Linked DNA regions of Homo sapiens: region 2 is linked to region 1. The links are contacts of gene promoters, found by promoter capture Hi-C in human tissues and cell types (Jung and others, 2019). All regions are on one chromosome and are shown on one strand. Each heading gives the region's core, a stretch centred on a gene start or on the middle of the fragment in contact. The rest is flanking DNA. Distances are from core to core; before and after follow the strand shown.

Region 1 (3,212 bases), core at 486-2,985:
GTTTGTGAATGCACCAATCCACACTCTGTATCTAGCTACTCTGGCAGGACCTTGGAGAACCTTTGTGTGGACACTCTATAGCTAATCTGGTGGGGACGTGGAGAACTTTTGTATCTAGCTCAGGGATTGTAAACGCACCAATCAGCACCCTGTCAAAACAGACCACTCGGCTCTACCAATCAGCAGGATGTGGGTGGGGCCAGATAAGAGAATAAAAGCAGGCTGCCCAAGCCAGTAGTTGTAACGCACTTGGGTTTTCTTCTATGTGGAGGAGGCTTTGTTCTTTCTCTTTTTCTTTTTGCAACAAATATTGCTGTTGCTCGGTGCTTAGGTCCTGTGTTGTCTTTACAAGTGGTAACGCTCACTGCGAAGATTTGCAGTTTTGCTCCCAAAGCTACGAAGACCACGATCCCACCGGAAAGAACAAACATATTCCAGACGCACTGCCTTAAGAGCTTTAACATTCGTTATAGAAGTCTGTAGCTTTGCTCCTTGAGCCAGTCCAAAGCTAGGGAGACCACGATCCCACCGGGAAGAACAAACAATTCCAGACACACTGCCTTAAGAGCTTTAACATCCACCACAGAGGTCTGTAGCTTTGCTCGTTGAGCCAGTGAGACAGCAAACCCACCAGCAGAAAAACTCCCTGAATACTTCTAAACATCGGAAGAAAAACTCTAGAGACACTGCTTTTAAGAACTAACACTCATCGCGAGGGTCTGCAGCTTTCTCAAGTCAGACCAAGAAGCCATCAATTTTGAACACACTGGCACGTTGTGATCTCTCACTATCTCCACTAAAAATAACAAAAATTAGCCTGGCAGCCAGGGGTGGTGGTACAGGCCTATAATCCCAGCTACTCAGGCAGCTGAGGCAGGAGAATCAGTTGAACATGGGAGTCAGAGGTAGTGGTGAGACAAGATCATACGCTGCACTCCAGCCTGGGCAATAGAGTGAGACTCCACATAAAAAAAAAAAAAACTTGGCTGGAATTCGCTTTATTCACTGACAATTATATTGGTCAGATTTGTGTATGTTGATACTTGTAGGGGATGGAGAGGGAGAAGTCAACGATGACAGCAAATTTTAGTGTAGAGCAACTAAGAGAATGGTGGTGCAGGAAACGGAATAGGAGTGACTCCAAGTGGGAATGGAGATAATATGCTGTGGATATTTTGGGTCCACAGAGCTGGGTAAAAATCAGGTTTAACTTACTCCCCATCCCCCTTTAAGATGCTTCTCAAGCAGCCTCACTCCCTAAAACAAACGGATATTTGGCTTTGAGCCACATTATTCTGCAGCCCCCGTATTTTCTTCCAGGCAGGCCCTTCCTGGTGTAGACAAGATCGGGCTTGAGTGACACTCCTCCCTGATGGCCTGCATCTGGTTTATACCCTGTAACTTGTTCCTCTATTAATGGGGTCCTTCAAAATCCAGCCTCAGATTCCCTGGTCCCGCAGCGGTGGCCTCACCTCTGGCGTGGCCGAGCTCACGTGGTCCGGCTTGTGCAAGTCCCAGGTCCAACTCCGGGTCTCCTGCTTTTGGCCACTCAGGATTGGACCTGGGACTGATACTGGTCGGCCCTGCAGGCGCTGCGGACAGGGGAAGCACAGAGATTCCCCGCCGCGTTCCCTGGACTCAGGAGCTCGCCGCGATGCCCCGCCCCACTCTCCACCCGCTGAATGCAGGGCGCATGCTGCTACTTGGCGGCTCAAGCCCCGCCCGCACCGTCCCCATTCTCTGACCGCCCCTCTCCCGGTACACTGCGCAGGCACAACAGAGCCGCTCCCCTCTCCTCGCCCCGCCACCGGGACGGAGAGCGCCCGCCGCTGCATTTCCGGCGACACCTCGCAGTCATTCCTGCGGCTTGCGCGCCCTTGTAGACAGCCGGGGCCTTCGTGAGACCGGTGCGAGTATTTGGGGATTATTCTTATTTTCTGCCACTTTTAACTTTTAGGGATTATTTAGGAGTTTCACGGCCGTCTGCTTTTCGTCCCCCCGATTCAGCGGGCCTTCAGGCCGTGTGGTCGGTGCTTTTCTCGTTGGGTATTTTCTGCTTTTAAAAGAAGTTGTGGATGCGCGGAGCCCCTGGGCTCCTGAGGCAAAGGCTTACCCATGTAGCATAGTGTTGCCTCGTTTCTTGGTGATTTTCTTGCTCCATCTCTTTAAAAGCCTCCCTTACTCGGTGCCGTCTCGAGTTAAGAACTGTGGGCAAGATCCCAAGCCCGCTGCCCTTCCCTGTTTTATGGAAACTTAATTCTTTTTTTTTTTTTTTTTGTCCTTGAGGGAGGGACTTGCTCTGTCGCCCATGCTTGAGTGCAGTTGCCTGAATATGTCTCATTGCAGCCTCTGCCTCCTGGGCTCAAGCCATCCTCCCACTTCAGCCTCCCAAGTAGCTGGGATTTACAGTCGCATATCACCATGCGCGATTAATTTTTTTATATTTTTTAGTAGACAATGGGTTTCACTATGTTGGCCAGGCTGGTCTTGAACTCCTAACCCCAGGTGATCCGCCCGCCTCGGCCTCCTAAAGTACTGGGATGACAGGCGTCAGCCACTGCGCTTGGCCTAATTCTTTAAACAGAATAAACGGGGTATGCATTGCTTTCATCTTTTGGCTCACTGGACACAGGATACTTTCTGTAAGAAAATAGAAGCTGTTTTTCCAAGGGTGTAGTGTCACATGTGAATATGACCACTGTTTCCGTATATTTTATCCTCTCCTACTACTGCCCTCCTAACAAGAACTGTGAGTTGGACGCAGAAGTTTCTAAAAAAGTTGAGCTTTGAAATTGGCTGTTGCAGCAGGGATGAAAAGCAACACCCCTACCTCCCCTCAAAAGAGACATTAAAGTAGTTGGATTAAGGGCACGGGAGTATTTGCTTTTGAATTTAGTGATAACATGGGTAGCTGATGAAATGACTAACACATTCCCTGATTTTAGAGCTGGTCAGTGGATCTTGCTGAGTTTCCCGTGGGCCTATGTGATTAAAACTGAGGTTTTCATGACAATGGTCAGCATCTGTTCAGGGTTTACTAGGTGCTAAGCACCTTTACATGTGACATCCATTGAATGCTCACTACAGCCCCAGGAAATCGGTACCAGTGTTATCCTCATGGTACAGTGAAGAATACTGAGACTTAGGTTGCGTAGCTTGCAGGTTGGACACACTTCTTTCTGACTGCTGGAGAGCTGTGCTTTTAACTACCT
Region 2 (3,281 bases), core at 569-3,068, 250 kb before region 1:
GACAGACAGACACACACACACACACACACACACACACACACACACACACACAGAACTTCTCTTTCTCTCCTTTTATTTATTTACTTGACCACATCATCTGCTAAAACGTTAAAAGCAAATAAGATGCATTTTCCATTTTGTGATTTTAGAAAAATTTACATTATTACAATAGTAGTACATTCTTGCCTGTGAGTGTAGGTGATTGATTGTATGCAATGCAGTTCTGCTCAGAGCATGAAAGAGGCTGCAGGGAATTACAAAAGCAATTTCATTTACAATAGTATCAAAAAGAATAAAATACTTGGAAATAAACTTAACCAAGAAGACAAAAGACTGTACGCTAAAACTTTAAAACATTGCTGAAAGCACTTAAAGAAGACACAAATAAATGGAATGACATCTGTGCTCATGATTGGAAGACTTAGTTTTGTTAAAATGTCAACACTACCCAAAACAATCTTAATGTAATCATTTAGCAAATGATTATGACTATGATTTCATATTTGTTGGGGGCATAAGAAAATCATATGCATTATGATTACATTAAGCAAACAATGTAATCCCTATTAAAAAATCCAATTAAAAATTTATCCTAAAATTTATGTGGACTCTCAAGGGACCCTGGATAGCCAAAATAAGCTTGAGAAAGAAGGACAAAGCTGGAGGCATCACACTTCCTGATTTCAAAATATATTACAAGACGAGAATCGCTTGCCAGGAAGCGCAGGTTGCAGTGAGCTGAGCCTAGATTGTGCCACTGCACTCCAGCCTGGGCAACAGAGCAAGACTGTCTCAAAAAAAATTTTATGTATGTATAAATTTTATGTATACATAAAAATTTTTATACATACATAAAATTTTTTAGACAGTCATATATGGTAACAATAATCAAAACAGTGTGGTACTGGCATAAAAACAGACACATAGACCAATGGAATAGAAGAGAAAGCCCAGAAGTAAACCCTTGCCTATATGATTGAATGACTTTTTACATGGGTGTTGAGACCATTCAATGGAGAAAGGGGTCTTTTCAACAAATAATATTGGGAAAACATGAATGTCCACATGCAGAAGAAGAAAGTGGGACCCTTACCTTACACCGTTTGTAACAATTAACATAAAATAGATCAAAGACCTAAATGTAAGGCCTAAACTATAAAATTTCTAGAAGAAAACATAGAGGGAAAGCTTTACAATGACATTGGATTTGACAATGATTTCTTGGTTGTGTTACCAAGAGCACAAGCCACAAAAATAAAATAGATAAATGTTTTGTTTGTTTGAGACAGGGTCTTGCTCTGTCACCCAGACTGGAGTGCATTGCCATAATTATGGCTCACTGCAGCCTTAACCTGCCAGGCTTAAGCAATCCTCTCATCTCAGCTTGTCGAATAACTGGGATCACAGATGCATGCCACCACACCTGGCTAATTTTTCTGTGTTTTAGTAGAGGCAAGGTTTTGCCATGTTGCCCAGGCTGGTCTCAAACTCTTAGGCTCAAGCAATCCACCCACCTCAACCTCCCAAAGTGCTGGGATTACGGGTGTGAGCCACCAGGCCCAGCCATAAAATAGATAAATTATACTACATTAAACTTAGAAACTTCTCGGCATCAAAGGACACAATCAACAGAGTGAAAAGGCAACCAATGGAATGGGGAAAAAATGTTTGCAAATCATACATCTGATAAGGTGTTAATATCCAGAATACATAAATAGCTCCTACAACTCAACAACAACAAAAACAAAACTATCTGATTTAAAAATGTGCAAAGGAGGTGCAGTGGCTCAAGCTTGTAGTCCCAGCTACTGGGAGGCCAATGTGGGAGGATCACTTGAGCCCAGGAGTTGGAGACCAGCGTAGGCAACACAGCAAGTGATATAGCTTGGCTGTGTCCCTACCCAAATCTCATCTTAAATTGTAGTTCCCATAATTCCCATGTGTCATGAGGGAACCAGTGGGAGGTAACTTAATCATAGAGGCAGGTCTTTCCTGTGCTGTTCTTGTGATAGTGGATATCTCACAAGATGTGATGGTTTTATAAAGGGAAGTTCCCCTGCACACACTTTCTTGCCTGCTGCCATTTAAGATGTGACTTTGCTCCTCCTTTGCCTCCCTAGCAATGTGGAACTGTGAGTCAATTAAACCTTTCTTTTATGAATTACCCAGCTTCAGGTATGTCTTTATGAGCAGTGTGAGAGCAGACTAATACAGCGAGACTCTGACTAAAAAAAAAAAAAAAAAAGAGAGCAGAGGACTTGAATAAATATTTCTCCAAAGAAGATAAACAAATGACCAATAACACATGAAAATATGTTTCCCATCACTAATCACTAGGGAAATGCAAATCCAAATCACAATGAGACACCACTTACTGTGTGTGTCTCCTTTTGTTTTCTTTTTTCCTTGGGCTGCATCTGGGTCCTGGTAATACTCCTTCCATTGCACAACTAATTCAATGTTTGAACTCTGGAAAGGAACACAAGTGGATATAAAAAGTTTAAAATTTGACATTGATAAAATAGTTGGAAATGTGCATGCAGTAGCAGCAGATTCTGGTACACTGCCTCCTGCCCCTGGGCTTGCCTCTAATTTCAGCTGCTGCTATGGTAGACAGTTCCATGAGAGCTCAGCTGCCTGCTTGCCTCAAGCCTATGCTCTACAACTCTGCTTTTCTGCCTTCTCCAAATCATGCGAGCCTCCGAAGTGCACCATGGTGCACCAGATGCATGGAATTAATGCATCTGGTGGCAATCTTCCCATGATAGAGGATGAGAGCCAATGACAAGTGCCCCAGCTCCCAAATGCTGGGAGGAATTCTGTACACTTCTTAGAGGTGCTGGTGGAATCAGCCCCTGTTGCTTAGAGCAGCAACCTGGAGAACGGCCATATAGTTAAGCTCCTTTTACTCTAGAAAAAGATAACAAAAGGTTGAAAGCAATTACCAAGCAATTGAAATCTGAGTATGAATGCCAGAGAACCTCTTTGGAAGTGTACAGAGAAACTCTCTTTTGCATTGGGAGGCCAGAGAAAGCTGAGGACCAGGGCTAAGAATTAATCATCTGAGACCAAAGAAGGTGACACTCCCAACCATGCCAGATCTGCTGTGTCAAGTTCAGGGCCCTGATTGGGGAAGAACAGGACTGTGAAATACAGGATGCAAACATCTGTGTTGATGCCCTACCCCTTGAAATTCTAGTTTCCTCTAGACCCTCCAACCCCACAAATGTGGGCTATCCCTCCATAGCAAGAGCCAGCCCACCCCCGGCCCCATTGCTTGA

The links. The method cuts DNA at HindIII sites, captures the fragments that hold promoters and counts their contacts. A contact is called where the count stands out against the background at its distance.
Region 2: a fragment that was not itself captured here is called in contact with the fragment with the promoter of TMEM14C in region 1 in 1 of the 25 tissues and cell types used here (H1 embryonic stem cells).

What each region holds. Positions count from the first base shown.
Region 1 is chr6:10,721,335-10,724,546 of GRCh38, forward strand. It overlaps TMEM14C (transmembrane protein 14C), which reads left to right and starts at 1,736. Exons shown (of 6, transcript NM_016462.4): 1 at 1,736-1,907. RefSeq lists a silencer at 1,667-1,796 and an enhancer at 1,736-2,632. The HindIII fragment of the contact is 20,984 bases long and covers 1-3,212 here.
Region 2 is chr6:10,472,125-10,475,405 of GRCh38, forward strand. The region is part of intron 1 of LINC02522 (long intergenic non-protein coding RNA 2522); the gene reads right to left. Among named protein-coding and RNA genes, the nearest start is that of LINC02522, 8.2 kb to the right of the region's middle. The HindIII fragment of the contact is 5,008 bases long and covers 1-3,281 here.